Linked DNA regions of Homo sapiens: all the other regions are linked to region 1. The links are contacts of gene promoters, found by promoter capture Hi-C in blood cells and fetal thymus (Javierre and others, 2016). All regions are on one chromosome and are shown on one strand. Each heading gives the region's core, a stretch centred on a gene start or on the middle of the fragment in contact. The rest is flanking DNA. Distances are from core to core; before and after follow the strand shown. Region 1 holds the start of ITLN1 (intelectin 1). Region 2 overlaps SLAMF7 (SLAM family member 7). Region 3 holds the start of SLAMF1 (signaling lymphocytic activation molecule family member 1). Region 4 has its middle 2.3 kb from the start of KLHDC9. Region 5 overlaps CD48 (CD48 molecule).

Region 1 (2,700 bases), core at 192-2,691:
ACCTCAAGTGATTGGCCACCCTCGTCCCCTCAAAGTGCTGGGATTACAGGTGTAAGCCGCAGCGCCTGGCTGAGACCTCTATTTCTAAGAGGTTGTTGTTTGTAAATATGAAAGCTGGGTATGTTCATTTTGTTACCTATACTGATGAGTTAATTTAGTTTCTAATACATTTAATTTTATTTAATTAATTATTTTCCAGATACACAGAGCAAATAGCTTCTAATAGATTTTAAATTTACAAAAGTATAACTTTTTTTTGCAGTTTTTCTTCTTGGGTGCTATTTTATTTTCTTCTATCAATATGTGAGTATTTTTTGCAAATCAGTACTTTGAACCAACAAATAGGAAATATTAGCTTAACAAAAAAGATATTCACAATCTTTGTAAGAAAAGGTTGCAGTATTATTAATGCTATAATGACATTATGTATTAAATGTATGATATCACTGGGGAAGAACTGAGTAATTCTATTACAGCTGCAGGGTAGCATTTGAGAACTTCATGACATAGGAGCAGGAATAAGACAGGAGGTTCGAAGCAGCAGAGAGGTTTCGTATTGATTCAGTTTCAAATGAATCCTGTAGTAAATTTTCCCTCGTTTGTGGCAAAATGACAAAATTAAAGACAAAGTAGTGAGTCTTTGTGTGAAACTAAATTATTCAAACTAAAGATTTATATATTTTTTAAAACTTTTCTATTCGTATTTTTTTGTGTGTTTTGTATCTCTTTCCCCTCCATTCCTTTTTACCAATTTATTCAGAAATGATCACTTTCCCATTTTGTTAAAATTTCCTTTTTCTATTTCTATGAATTGATAATTATGGCCAATGATTAATTTCATTTATTTATTTATTTTGAGATACCTAAGCTGAAGTACAGTGGCACGGTCATATTTCACTGAATCCTCTATCTCTGGGACTTAAGTTACCCTTTTGCCTTGCCTCAGCCCCACCTGAAACTATAGGCAAGTACCACCATGCCATGCTAATTTTTTTACTTTTATTTTTAGTAGAGAAGAGGTTGCCCTATGTTGCCCAGGCTGGTCTCAAACTCCTGAGTTCAAGTGATCCTTCTGCCTTGGCCTCCCAAAGTATTGGGATTTGAGCCAATGTGCCAAGCCAACAGATGCTTAATTTAGAGAAAGTTTTTATTTTGCAAGAAAGAAAGGCACAAAAACCCAAAACCAACACCAACTCTTGTTAATCTCTTCGTCTACTTCCTACTTGACACAGGTCCATGAAACCCCCAGATCCAGGAACAACGCTAGCAGGTGATTCTTAGGATTGGTTTTTTCTTTAGAACCTGTTAATTCCACTGTATAAATAACCTCCCCGAGATAACCAGAAGCCTCCCCTGCACTGGGCATTGTGCCAGGGGAGGGTGAGGCTGGAAACCTTGGTTGGCCCCACTGGGCTTCCTCCATAAAGCTTTCTGCACCTCATTCCACATCAGGAGCGTTTTTGGAGAAAGCTGCACTCTGTTGAGCTCCAGGGCGCAGTGGAGGGAGGGAGTGAAGGAGCTCTCTGTACCCAAGGAAAGTGCAGCTGAGACTCAGACAAGGTCTGTGAGTTGGGGGAATCCTGTTTTCAGCTTAGGTCTGCTTTTGGTCTCAGAGATGTGTGAAGTTTAAACAAAAGGCAAGGGGTTTTGGAGTCTTTGTAAGACTGGACAGGGGTGGGGCAGGGATGTAGAGAAAAATGATGGCCAAGATGGTGACCTTCATCTTGCTTTCTTTAGATTACAATGAACCAACTCAGCTTCCTGCTGTTTCTCATAGCGACCACCAGAGGATGGAGTACAGGTGAGTCACGCTGCTAGGGACAGCAGTTCCTTCAGCTGGATGACTTCCGGGATCCTGGTCTCTCCCAGGACACAGAGCATGTCCTTGAGATGCACAGCGGCTGGCTTGCATGTAGACTGAGTGCCGATTTCTGGTCTCTGGCGGAATCTGGCCTGTGGCAGTGAAGGTATTGCTTGAGGCATGTCCTGGGTCCAGGCTCTGTGCTTTTGTGTGGCCCTGAGGGGGCTGTGGCAAGAACTGTGTCACCTTCCAGCCACTGCCCACTCCTGTGGCCTTGGCTGTGGGATTTCCATGGGAACTACATGGTCTGCTTTGTGCCTGGAGAATGTTCTCTCCACAGTTTTCCTCTCTACAACAAGAATAACAATGACATTTTAAAATTTATATTTTTCTTCACGTCTAAAAATTTTTTTTTTAAAGAAAAGGCTGTTTCGAAATATCTTCTTACTTCATCTTTGCAAAAGCACTGTTTATTAACTGTGTTTTAGGTATGAGGAAACTGAGGTCAGTCACCTCTGACCTCACAGCTTTCCCCTAGACTGTTCGAATAGTTTGCAGACTTTTTGGAGTAGAGATTAGTCTCACCACTCCCTACTTCACACCCCATGTTTCAGCCATATTAAGCAGCTTGTAGTTCTACAGCTGGACTACGCTGTATTTTTTTTTTTTTCTCTAGGCCTTTGGATATGCTGTTTTCCCTGCCTTGGATTGGCTTCCTACTGATAAATCATGTTTATTCTCTCAGAATAAGCTAAGATGTCACCTGGACTGGAAGGTCTTCTGTGACTAAGACATGAGACAACCCGTCTTGCCTTCTTCTCCCAGGCAACTGCCCCGCTTACTGTCTGGCGTTTCCATTCTCCACTGTTACCTCAGAGTCTTTCTTTTGTTCTCTTGAG
Region 2 (2,700 bases), core at 192-2,691, 140 kb after region 1:
CCTGGCAAGGATGGGGCTTGAGAAGTTTCTGCTGACAGGGTTCCTGGCAACGCAGATGAAGGTCATATCACTTTCTCCCCATCTCCAGGAGATGGGGAGGATGGACCCATTATGGGACTCATTGGCTGCTTGCCCCAGGGCCTTCCAGGTATAAATCACATCCTCTTCCCCATGTTCCATGCAGCATGTCAGATTGGTCACACAGGTGCCATTCTTATTGCTCTGCAGACCCATGGTGACTTTAGGCTTTGACAGGTGCTCTGTGAGAGGAAGGAAAACCAGAGGTGGAAACTCTGCCTATAGCTCTCCATTCTCTGAATTATCCTTGGATACCTTGGACCTGAATCTCCCTGGGAGCTCCAGACTGGAGAGAAAGCAGTAATTCAGAGCAGAATCCTCATTCGTATCTGGAAAAGAGAACTACCTAGGTCTGCTTTACCATAGCTATATAATAATAATAACAATAACAACAATAGAAATAATAGAAATAATAATGCAATAAGAATATAACTGTCATTTACTAAGCATAGCCACATGGCAAGCACTGTGATAACGCATGTTAGATGTCCGCTAATATTATCTGTTCTAGAGGTTCCCTAGTCTCTGTCCTCAGGCTTCCCTTTACTCTCTATGAGAGTTCACTTTACTCTCTAGGAGAAAATTGTGTTGGAGTAGCCCTTCTGGCCCCCTTCTCTACTCTGTGCTCACTCCCCTGCCTCAGAGAATGAGTAGTTGGTTCATTGGTGAGATGGTAAGAGTCTGACATTCATCATTTACCTTTCTCTACTCATGGGTTTGAGACGTTAAAGGTTGCAGTTAAAATGTGTTTTGCCCTTTTTCTTCCTCCCCTGACTAGTTAGCCTGCAGAATACATATCTTCTGTTCCCTTCAACCATGTCTATATGGAAGACACACCTGGATCAGGTGCAGTGCCTACCTCCTACAAGCAAGTCTGGAGGCCCATCCCCTAAGGTTCCTGATACTGTGGCTCAGTGAGTGAAGCAGCTATTCTTCTTGAAGAAGTTTGAGTCATTGTTTCATAATTTTAACTTCCCTGGATGAGTGCCAAGGTCTAGAATTGAAAGGAAGCATTTCTCCTGTCTAGATTTACCAGAAATATGCTGATATTTTAATCCCCTCCTTCTTGCATCTATTTATCAATTGGTTGTAATCTGTAGAGAAAGAGATGTGATCGATATTTTGCCCAAAAATCTTCCTAAGGTAGGCATTTCTTTCCTCCCCACTACAGATATGGAAACTAAGACTTGAAGAAATTAAATAACTCGGCTAAGGTCATGTGACTAAATAAAGAAGCCAGCATTTGACCTTGATCTATGCGATGGCCACTGCACATATCAGCCATCCACTGCACCACGCTGCTTCTTACAACATCTCTGAGTAGGCAGGGACCTCAGGGGTCAGCTACATCTATTTCATTCATGCAGAAGTCCCCTCTCCCACATTCTTGCCAAGTGTTTATTCAGCCTCTGCTTAAACATCTCTCATGTCAAGGAGCTCACCACCTCACCAAGGCAGCCATCCACCATTGGAACTGATTTTGCTCACCGTAGACATGCAGCACGTACTCCTGGGTGGAGGGCTGCTGGAGTGATGAGCTGTATATCCCCACATAGTAGATCCCTGAGTCATTCTTCTTCAGTTTGCTGAGCTTCAGGGAGTAGCCTCCATCTGGGAAGTCTACTCTCTCCCTATTACGATTTTGGGTCACTATGATAGTGCCCCCTTCTGGCTGTATGGTGACAAGAGGGGTTGTGTTGAAGGTCCAGACAATAGAGTCAACTTGCTTTACTTTGGACTTCAGGGGGAAAGTCACGGCCCCACCAACGGAACCGACCAGCTCTTTCACGGGTCCAGAGGCTGCTGACCCTATAAACACAGAGAACCATAAAATAAGCCTGATTCCCTGTCCTTGTCACCAATTACTCACCCCCTTTGGGTCCTGGAGAGATCTGAGAAACCCACTCAGTCCAACACAACAACCTCCTGGAAAAGCCTTTGGAACCTCATATAGAGGTCCCTCACATGTTACCCTATTATGTAAGTGCTCACATGGAAGCATTATATTAGAAATTTATGTATCACAACAATCTTAGTTCACTCCCAGAGAGTATGACTTATAAAAAATCATCACTGATTATGTGGTTGTAGGTGAAAAACAGTTAAGAATGTCTGCTGAAGAAACTTCCAGAAGTGGCCAGCTGAGCATTACCAGTAAACAGATGTGGGGAGTAAGTCATCTTATTCTTACCTATTAAACTTGAGAGACAGACTCTGGGAATAACACAGAGCAGTGAGAGAATTTAGTTTGGGACTAGCAGTTTAAAAGCATAAATTATAATCTTGATTAACACTTTTGTTTTTGAGACAGAGTCTCACTCTGTTGCCCAGGCGGGATTGCAGTGGCACGATCTCAGCTCACTACAACCTCCACGTCCTGGGTTCAAGTGATTGTCTTGCCTCAGAGTGATTGTCTTTCTTCAGCCTCCTGAGTAGCTGGGAGTCCAGGTGTGTGCCATCTTACCTAGCTAATTTTTGTGTTTTTAGTAGAGGTGGGGTTTTCACCATGTTGGCCAGGCTGATCTTGAACTCCTGACCTCAAGTGATCTGCCCGCCTCTGCCTCCCAAAGTGCTGGATTGCAGGCATGAGCCACCACACCCAGCCTTGTTTAACTCTTAAAA
Region 3 (2,700 bases), core at 60-2,559, 240 kb after region 1:
CACACATATATGTATATCTACTATGTACCCACAGACGTTAAAAATTAGAGGAGAAAACACACACACAACAAGGAGACTGAGCTGGAAGGATGGAGCTCTGGGATAGATTTGTCCTACATCCCTGCCTGGGAGGGAATCCACACACATGCAAGAAGACAAACTAGGAGCATGGGCTACTAAATTATACCACATTGCACTCATCGGGGTCACAGGGTTTCTTCCAAGTGACCCGCACATGCCCTTCCCATCTCTGTGTGACAGTGGCACCTGCACCAGACTGCATGTTGAGGTGTCATCTGAAATTATGAAATAAAACAGAAGTAAGAGGTCTATTAGCTCATCAAAATGCAGTTATCTAAGTTCAGCTGTGAACTGCCAAATTTGAGGAGTGATCCAATGAAACATCTTTTCTTTGCAATCCAAGAAGACTTACCGGAGAGAACTGCTCAGAGAATCTGCAACATCCGGTTCCTGGAGACAGCTAAGGAAAGAAGCTGGGGCGCATGTTTCTGCCCAAAGCCGGGTTTTGGCCGAGGTGACTACACACCCCCTTTCCTGGCTCCCATAGGCTAAGTGCCTGGCTTCTTGAGAAGCCTGCTTCTTGAGAACAAAAAAGTGATTTAAAGCCTCATGGGAGATGAGCAATCCTCAAGACACAAGCAGAAAAAGTCCCAGTGATACAGGAAGCGGGTTCAGGAACCTGCTGGTTCCTGATACATAAATCAGACAGCCTCTGCTGCATGACACGAAGCTTGCTTCTGCCTGGCATCTGTGAGCAGCTGCCAGGCTCCGGCCAGGATCCCTTCCTTCTCCTCATTGGCTGATGGATCCCAAGGGGCTCCTCTCCTTGACCTTCGTGCTGTTTCTCTCCCTGGCTTTTGGGGCAAGCTACGGAACAGGTGAGTGTTCATCTGCCTGATGGTTTGAGTCCCATGTTAGCTGCCAGGAATCAGCGTATCTTCGTGGATGGAGAGAAGGTGCAGGGCTGGGTATTGTGTTTGGTCACTCTTCCTTAGGGACTGGCTGTCAGTTTCAACTGCCTCTTTCAAAGAGGAAGGAACATTATAAGTTCCTGGGCCCTTGGGTTTCCAAGACTCAGCCCCACCAACCCCAGTTTCCAAGGAAATGAGGGGCTCTAAGCCAAAGGCTCCAGTCACTTTTCTGACCAGTCTTAGGGTGACAGGCCCTGGTAGAAGTCTTGCTTGAGTGGTTGGTTTTACATGGGCATCTTCTGGCAAAGACCCAGCCTAGAGAGACTGAGCTGGATGGACTGAGCTCTGGGAGAAGATTTGCCCTACATCCCTGCCCTGGGAGGGAATCTGTGCACATGCAGGCTGACAAACCAGGAGCATGGGTCAACAGAAAGCATTGGCTAGAGTGGGAAGAGAGAGTAGAAGTGAAAACTCCAGGCTTTTGGCTGAGAACCAGCAGTGGCCACAGTGCGGTCATACTGGTGTGTATTTTCTTGGAAGAGAAGGTCCAAGAAAGCAAGAGGGAAGAAGTTGGGATTTCTGAAGGCTAGGGCTGGTTACAGTATGTGGGAAATGCAAATTGGGAACCCTCAGAGAGTAGCTCCAGCAGGAAGGCCAGACAAGAGCTACCTTTGGATCTGGACTCTGTTCCTGTCTTTCTGTCTATCTTCTTCCCAAGGCAGGCTATTGCTTTCTGTTTAGAAGTATCAGGGCTATGAGAAAAGGTATTTGAGAAAGAAAAAGCCAAGCAAGAAGTGGACTTTGGACTGCCTGTGTGAGTGGGGTGAGAATCTCCTTCTGCTTATTTGTTTAGACTGTGGGAGGTAGCCTGGAGTAGAAGAGGTGGCATTACGGACACGGGGGGAAATCCTGAGGCCCAGGGTGTTTTAAGCTTGGGGTTTTCAAGACCGCAAATCCAATATGGACTTTTCCAGGAAAAGCACCGTGATATGCCAGGGATGTGGGGGTGCTGCACAATGGATGTGTCTTTTACCAGACAGCCAGACGAACAGGGCTTGCTCAGCCCACTTTCTTTTGGAATCTGCAGATCCATGGCTCGTACTTCCCAAGGTCTAGGGGAGGAAGAACTGAGCTCGGGGCTCAGAAAACCAAATCGAGCCACTTTAAGTGGTCACAGGGAAAGCCAAGCCTCCGTTGTTGCAACCAATTTGTGACTGCACCATTTCTGGAGCACCTCTTGGTGACTGTAAGGTGTGATGGAGTGATGGTGCTGAACTGTGAACTGGACTTTTCCATCTCTGTGCTTGCTAGCCTCTTGGCCAGCCTGGCCCATAGCATCTTAGGCACTGCTGACCAATAGCTCGTCTTATTGAGGCTTTGGAAGTCGCCGGTCAGGGAGAAGCAACCCAGCCCCACAAGGCAAGTCTATCCAATCGGAGGCTGCTCACTTCATTGCATGTTTTCTTCTTTGAATCTTCACAAAAGTTTTTCAGTGTTTTTATTTTTAAATACACACCCTTTTGTGAAGCCCCAATAAAACCCAGACAGAAATGCTTTGCAAATGGGGCAGGTTAGTCATGACAGATTTGCCCAAGCAAGAAGCTTGATTCTTGTAAAACTGGCATCCACTCCCATTCTCATTTCTACTCAGCTCAACTTCTAATTCCCAGTCAGAATTGTAAAAATCAAAAAGTCCACATGTCCCTTCCCCAAGTAAAGTGAATTTTTCATTTCCCCCGATGAGATTTGTTTTAATAGACTTTATTTT
Region 4 (2,743 bases), core at 5-2,504, 210 kb before region 1:
GTGGGGCAAAAACAGGATCTGTGTCCTCTGGGACTGGGCTGTAAGTGGGAATGATGACTGCTACTTGTGGCCTTTGGTTTCTACACATCACCTTGCTCCCCATCATACCTGAGATACTGAGACCATAGAAAGTGGCCAGGCAGGAGAATCACTTGAGGCCAGGAGTTCAGGAGTTCAAGACCAGCCTGGGTAACATAGTGAGACCCTGGCGAAAGAAAGAAAGAAAAAAAGAAAAGAAATAAAGAAAGGAAGAAAGGAGACAGTGGCCAGGGCTGCAGTGAGGATGGGCATGTAATGCAGGGTCTGATAGCACAGCAGGGCTTTCCCCTCCTCTTCCCAACTCTTGGTCCTCAGAGAACACAGCATGGGGATGGCATGGGCAGGAAAGGCACAGTTACAGAGATTGGAAGATTACCAGGACCTGTTCCCCACCTGTACCTTAAAGCCAAGATTCAACAATAGCTTTGAAAGTCTCTGCCCTCCCAACTATAGCTTTCCCTGAGTATGACAGGCAGTATTCTCAGTTTTCCAAAATCATGGTAAGAATCTCTAAAAAATCACTAACTTTTACTGTCCTTGGCTGAAATTTAAAAGTCAGTCTTTTCCCTCAGGCTTCTTTCTCACTGGCTAACCTCCCAACAGCTGGATTCAGATCTGTCATACTCCTAGGATTAGGCAAGGGCTTGCCTCAGGGGTGGGGCAATTTTGCTTAAACCTTATTGGCCTATATGTCCATTTTAGGCTCTTGCTTTTGCCTAAGTCTTGGCTGTTCTGTTAGACTTACTTTCTGCCTTTCCTGGATAGAAATGGGAACTCCCCACCCCACGGGCCTTTCCAGCTCCTCTCTCCCAGCTTCCTCTCTGACTCTGAGTCCTTAGCAGTAGGCATCTTAGTTAGACATAGAGCTTGAACCTCACATACTCCTTGGCTGTACCCTCTCCAGTTCTGTACCTAGATGCTTCCAGTTCCTCCTAATAGCTGGAAGCATCTGTCCATTGCTTTGCCATCCCAAGACCCTGGGAGAGGAACTGCCTAGGACTCCTACCTTCTTAGGTTAGTTTGAACCAAATCCATATTTTGGAGGAGGGAGAAAAGAAGCCAGAAAGAGAGAAACAGAGAGAGGAAGAAAGCAAACCAGCCAACCTGGACTTGTATGACACATGCTTCACACCGCAGGACAGCATCTGCAGTGGTCTATAATGACCTTGTCAATGATACACAAACTGAAAGGGCATTAAGATAAGTGAAAGGGGGAACTGAGAGAAAATTGTGAGAGACAGGGAAAAGGGCAGCCAGGGCTGTGAACCTGCTTTCACCTGCTAATAATATCCAGGGACAACCTCTGTCCAGAAATGAGAGCAGGGACTGGATATCCTGAAAGTCTCGTAATCCTGATGTGATCCCCTGATGTTGGCTTTGTCTCAGTTGGCCAAGAGTCTATATGATCTCTAGCAAGCAAGCACCCAGCTTCCTACCTAGCCTTAGATGTCTATCCTAGCCCCAAATCTACGCCCCCTTGCCTCAAACTTTCACAAAGCTCTTACTCTATCTTCTCCCTTCCTTAACCCCATTTTCTGACCCTGGAACCATCTCTGGTTCTTAGCATTATTCGGTACATACAGAAAACCAACAATTGGGCTGGGTGTGGTGGCTCACGCCTATAATCCCAACACTTTGGGAAGCCAAGGTGGGTGGATCACTTGAGGCCAGGAGTTCAAGACCAGCCTGGCCAACATGGTGAAACCCCATCTCTACTAAAAATAAAAAATAAAAAATTCACCAGCCGTGGTGGTGCATGCCTGTAGTCCCAGCTACTCTGGAGGCTGAGGCAAGAGAATCGCTTGAACCTGGGAGGCTGAGGTTGCAGTGAGCCGCGATTGTGCCATTGCACTCCAGCCTGGGTGACTGAGAGAGAAAGAGAAAGAGAGAGAGAAAGAAAAGAAAGAGAGAGAGAAAGAAAAGAGAGAGCGAGAAAGAAAAGAGAGAGAGAAAGAAAAGAGAGCAAGAAAGAAAAGAGAGAGAGAGAAAGAAAAGAGAGAGAAAGACAGAAAGACAGAAGGAAGGAAGGAAAGAAAGAAAGAAGAAAGAAAGAAAGAAGGAAGGAAGGAAGGAAAGAAAGAAGGAAAGAAAGAAAGAAAGACCAACAATTGCACCAAACGGTCTTAATCGCACTCAAGACTCCCACAGTTCCCTCTGCCCATGTCTCCCAGGCTGTCCCCATCCTTCAGGCCCTTTCTTTGACTCTTCTTCTGCTGTACCCTGACCCTTCTCTATTTCTCACACAGCTCATTCTAGCTGCTTGACTTCCTGGCCCTATGCCATCCTGGCCCCATTTCTGACTCTTTGCTCTCAGCTCAGCCAGAATAAAGACAGGGACAAAAGGACAGAGAAATGACCAGGCAAAGAGACTGCATGAGGTCAGATCTTGAGAGCTCCTTTGACTGAATGTGAGCTAGAAGGAGATTGAGAGAAAGGTGAAATTGTAAGCAGGCTTTAGGGTGGAGGGGAGTGGTAATCAGCCAAGGTAGAGAATGATGGAGAGGTGGAATAAGGATGGGGAGAAGCTTATGTTGTTGAGGGAGTAGGCAATGTTGAGTAGGAAAGTATCATTGGGTCATTGCTGAGCGGTGGGAATTGAGGGCAGAAGACAGAAGGACTTTGAGTAATCATGGCATCCAGAAATTTCTCTTCGGGTCCTTCTGTCTCTGTTTCAGATTTTGTCTTGGCCACTTCAGCCACTTTG
Region 5 (2,700 bases), core at 201-2,700, 200 kb after region 1:
GTGGTCATCTCCTCCAAAGAGATTTTTCTTAGTATTTTCTCCATTTTCTATCCCTACCCTCCGGATAGGAATATATTCCCATAGCACACTGTGTTTATTGTCAGGAGTCAGGAAATGATGCCCTAAAATGATGGCCTCAGAAGCAGCCTCAGAAGTGAAAGTTTTTCTCTGACCTTCTCCTGCCCTCCTGTCTATCAGTCCCATTCTCCCCTAGGCTAGCCATAGACACTGGAATCCCTCTTTCCCAAGGTGGGCCATAGAAGCCAAAACCCCTTTTCCCCAAAGCCAGCCATAAAATTTAAATATACCACCCTAACTTTCCTTGAGCCTTTCTCTGTAAAAAAAAAATAGCTATAAAGAAATTATCTGACCTATCTTGTTTGATTGTGAATCATAAGACCCCCATTCTAGAGAGGGCCTGACCCACACACGGGAGGAAGGAAAGAATCTGGCACAGAAAGGCCAAGCAGAATCTAGAAAGATAGGCCTTGCTGGGTTTCCCGCAGTCAGTCTATTGGCATTCAATCATACCCTTTTTGTCCAATCATATTTCTCCATGACTGTCCATACTTTGTTGAACCTAAGCATAAAAATGGACAATTTGCCCTGTATCTTTGGCTCTTCATTAGGAAGGCTCTGCTTACACGTTAAATTGATCTGTATGCCTTTCCTCCTTAATCTGCCTCTTGTCAGTGATTTTTGGCAAACCTTCAGAAGGTGAAGGGGAAGCTTTCCCTTGGTCCCCACGTTACCTTTATTATAGTCATCAAGATAATATATTAGGATTATTTGTTTGTGTGTTTGTCCTCCCACATTGGTATATTAAATATTTTTAAACAGAATCATGTACTTTTTATGTCTATGCCTCTAGGGACTAACAACATGCTTACTGAAATGAGAATAGACAGGAAACACAAGACCAGAGCAGAGATATGACTTGTCATCAGTTTATTTGAAAGTCTACTGGTATGAGAGTAAGGGAGAGAGCCAGGCCCAACCTCAGTTGGCCTTACTCAATTCTTTCATTTTCTGGGGACAGTACTAGATTAATTATAAGCAGCATCCCCTTCCCCCATGCCCACTTTTCAAGCTTCAACTTTTCTTGAGTTCCTAAGCAGGAGACCTGGACCTCCAGTGAAAACCATACTCACTGCTCCTAAGCAGAAATCCCTTCCTTCTCACCTGTTCCACCAGCCCAGGCTATACCCTGGGCCTGTCAGCAACACTGCCTCCTCTAGCGCAGGTCTCACTCTGAATCTCATTGGCAGGTCACTTGGTACATATGACCGTGGTCTCCGGCAGCAACGTGACTCTGAACATCTCTGAGAGCCTGCCTGAGAACTACAAACAACTAACCTGGTTTTATACTTTCGACCAGAAGATTGTAGAATGGGATTCCAGAAAATCTAAGTACTTTGAATCCAAATTTAAAGGCAGGGTCAGACTTGATCCTCAGAGTGGCGCACTGTACATCTCTAAGGTCCAGAAAGAGGACAACAGCACCTACATCATGAGGGTGTTGAAAAAGACTGGGAATGAGCAAGAATGGAAGATCAAGCTGCAAGTGCTTGGTGAGTCAGGGGAGCCAAAGAGCAAATCCCCACTCCAGTGGCCCCAGATGGACCACTGTAGGGCTTCCTGGGAGGCATGGGGCACTCTCGGGGAGGAGGAGAGAAAAACCTCAGGACAGGTTTGATTCATTTTTCCTTGATCCAATTCTATTTGGGAGTGAGCCTAGGTCAACAGATATCCAAATTAACAATCTTAGGACATTTAACACCTCTTCTGAAGTTAGTGAGTCTAAGCTTTGAAGAGAAGGAAAACTAGAGATTTTTCCTATTTCCTTCATTTTGTCCTGTGATCAACCTAAATCAGCTCAGCTCATCTTGATTATATCTCCGAAATTAGGCTTCATTGGACTTAAGAAAAAAGAGAATGTATTAATATAAAGAATGGGGCAGGAGTTATCAGGAGAATTTTTCAACTTTCATAATGGGCAGGACAAAAAAACTTCCACTCATAGCTCCAGTCTAACCAGTGTATATGGAATAAGGACTCAGGCATTATACCTGGAGCCAGACAGACTTGGGTTCAAAACTGGTCAGTTGCTCACTAGCTGTGCAGCCTTGAAAAAAGATCTTCACATCTCTGTGCCCATATTAGGTAAGATTCTTTTGATAGCAAATAACAGAAACTAATTCAATGTACCTTTACCAAAAAAGGAGAATTTAGTTTAAGAAACTAGGGCTATTTAAAGCAATTCAAAGAGTTTAAAAGAGCTAGGAAGGGCTTAAGGGGAGAAGATTGAAAACCAGGTTCGGGCCAGAACCCCTAGCTTCAGGAATCTGTGGACTGTGCCTATGGATTTGGATTCCTGCCATTTTACACATGTTATCTCTCAAAACTTAGACTTTTGCTCCTCTGAGTTTCAATTCTCAGGGCAATTTAAAGAGAGAGAAACTGATAGTCCCAATTTAGTTCAGGTGTGTGTACCTGATCTAAACATTTTTGGTGAAAGGATCAGATTATAGGGCAGAAACATGGATATGGGGAGGGGCTCCAGGGGTTGGGGTATGCAATTCTTGTAGAAGAGCGGGGCTAAATAATCCAAGAGTGGTGTTCCCTTGAGAGCCTTGGGTTCTTCATCATATTATGAGAATAATTCTACTTACCTTTCAGGATGTTATTAGAGTCAAAGTA

What was found. Contacts are between HindIII fragments. The CHiCAGO score rates a contact against its expected background, and 5 or more counts as called.
Region 2: a fragment that was not itself captured here is called in contact with the fragment with the promoter of ITLN1 in region 1 in 7 of 17 cell types (fetal thymus, naive CD4 T cells, activated CD4 T cells and 4 more); the score reaches 6.8 in fetal thymus.
Region 3: a contact is called between a fragment that was not itself captured here and the fragment with the promoter of ITLN1 in region 1, in 1 of 17 cell types (megakaryocytes). The highest score is 5.6, in megakaryocytes.
Region 4: a fragment that was not itself captured here is called in contact with the fragment with the promoter of ITLN1 in region 1 in 1 of 17 cell types (activated CD4 T cells); the score reaches 5.0 in activated CD4 T cells.
Region 5: a contact is called between a fragment that was not itself captured here and the fragment with the promoter of ITLN1 in region 1, in 11 of 17 cell types (fetal thymus, megakaryocytes, total CD8 T cells and 8 more). The highest score is 9.2, in fetal thymus.

Annotation. Positions count from the first base shown.
Region 1 is chr1:160,883,921-160,886,620 of GRCh38, reverse strand. ITLN1 (intelectin 1) reads left to right here and starts at 1,441. Exons shown (of 8, transcript NM_017625.3): 1 at 1,441-1,560; 2 at 1,738-1,801. The coding sequence starts at 1,744. The HindIII fragment of the contact is 4,692 bases long and covers 1,430-2,700 here.
Region 2 is chr1:160,747,381-160,750,080 of GRCh38, reverse strand. SLAMF7 (SLAM family member 7) reads right to left here. Exons shown (of 7, transcript NM_021181.5): 2 at 1,567-1,887; 3 at 1-260. Among named protein-coding and RNA genes, the nearest start is that of SLAMF7, 9.5 kb to the right of the region's middle. The HindIII fragment of the contact is 7,230 bases long and covers 1-2,700 here.
Region 3 is chr1:160,645,069-160,647,768 of GRCh38, reverse strand. It overlaps SLAMF1 (signaling lymphocytic activation molecule family member 1), which reads left to right and starts at 725. Exons shown (of 7, transcript NM_003037.5): 1 at 725-899. The coding sequence starts at 824. It overlaps LOC107985220 (a long non-coding RNA gene), which reads right to left and starts at 760. Exons shown (of 2, transcript XR_001738266.2): 1 at 434-760; 2 at 1-296. RefSeq lists enhancers at 594-643, 684-893. The HindIII fragment of the contact is 1,112 bases long and covers 754-1,865 here.
Region 4 is chr1:161,094,715-161,097,457 of GRCh38, reverse strand. No RefSeq gene overlaps it. Among named protein-coding and RNA genes, the nearest start is that of KLHDC9, 2.3 kb to the left of the region's middle. The HindIII fragment of the contact is 2,624 bases long and covers 1-2,566 here.
Region 5 is chr1:160,683,758-160,686,457 of GRCh38, reverse strand. CD48 (CD48 molecule) reads left to right here. Exons shown (of 4, transcript NM_001778.4): 2 at 1,269-1,571. It overlaps LOC124904439 (endogenous retrovirus group K member 18 Env polyprotein), which reads right to left. Exons shown (of 1, transcript XM_047438433.1): 1 at 1-2,700. Among named protein-coding and RNA genes, the nearest start is that of CD48, 27 kb to the left of the region's middle. The HindIII fragment of the contact is 715 bases long and covers 1,093-1,807 here.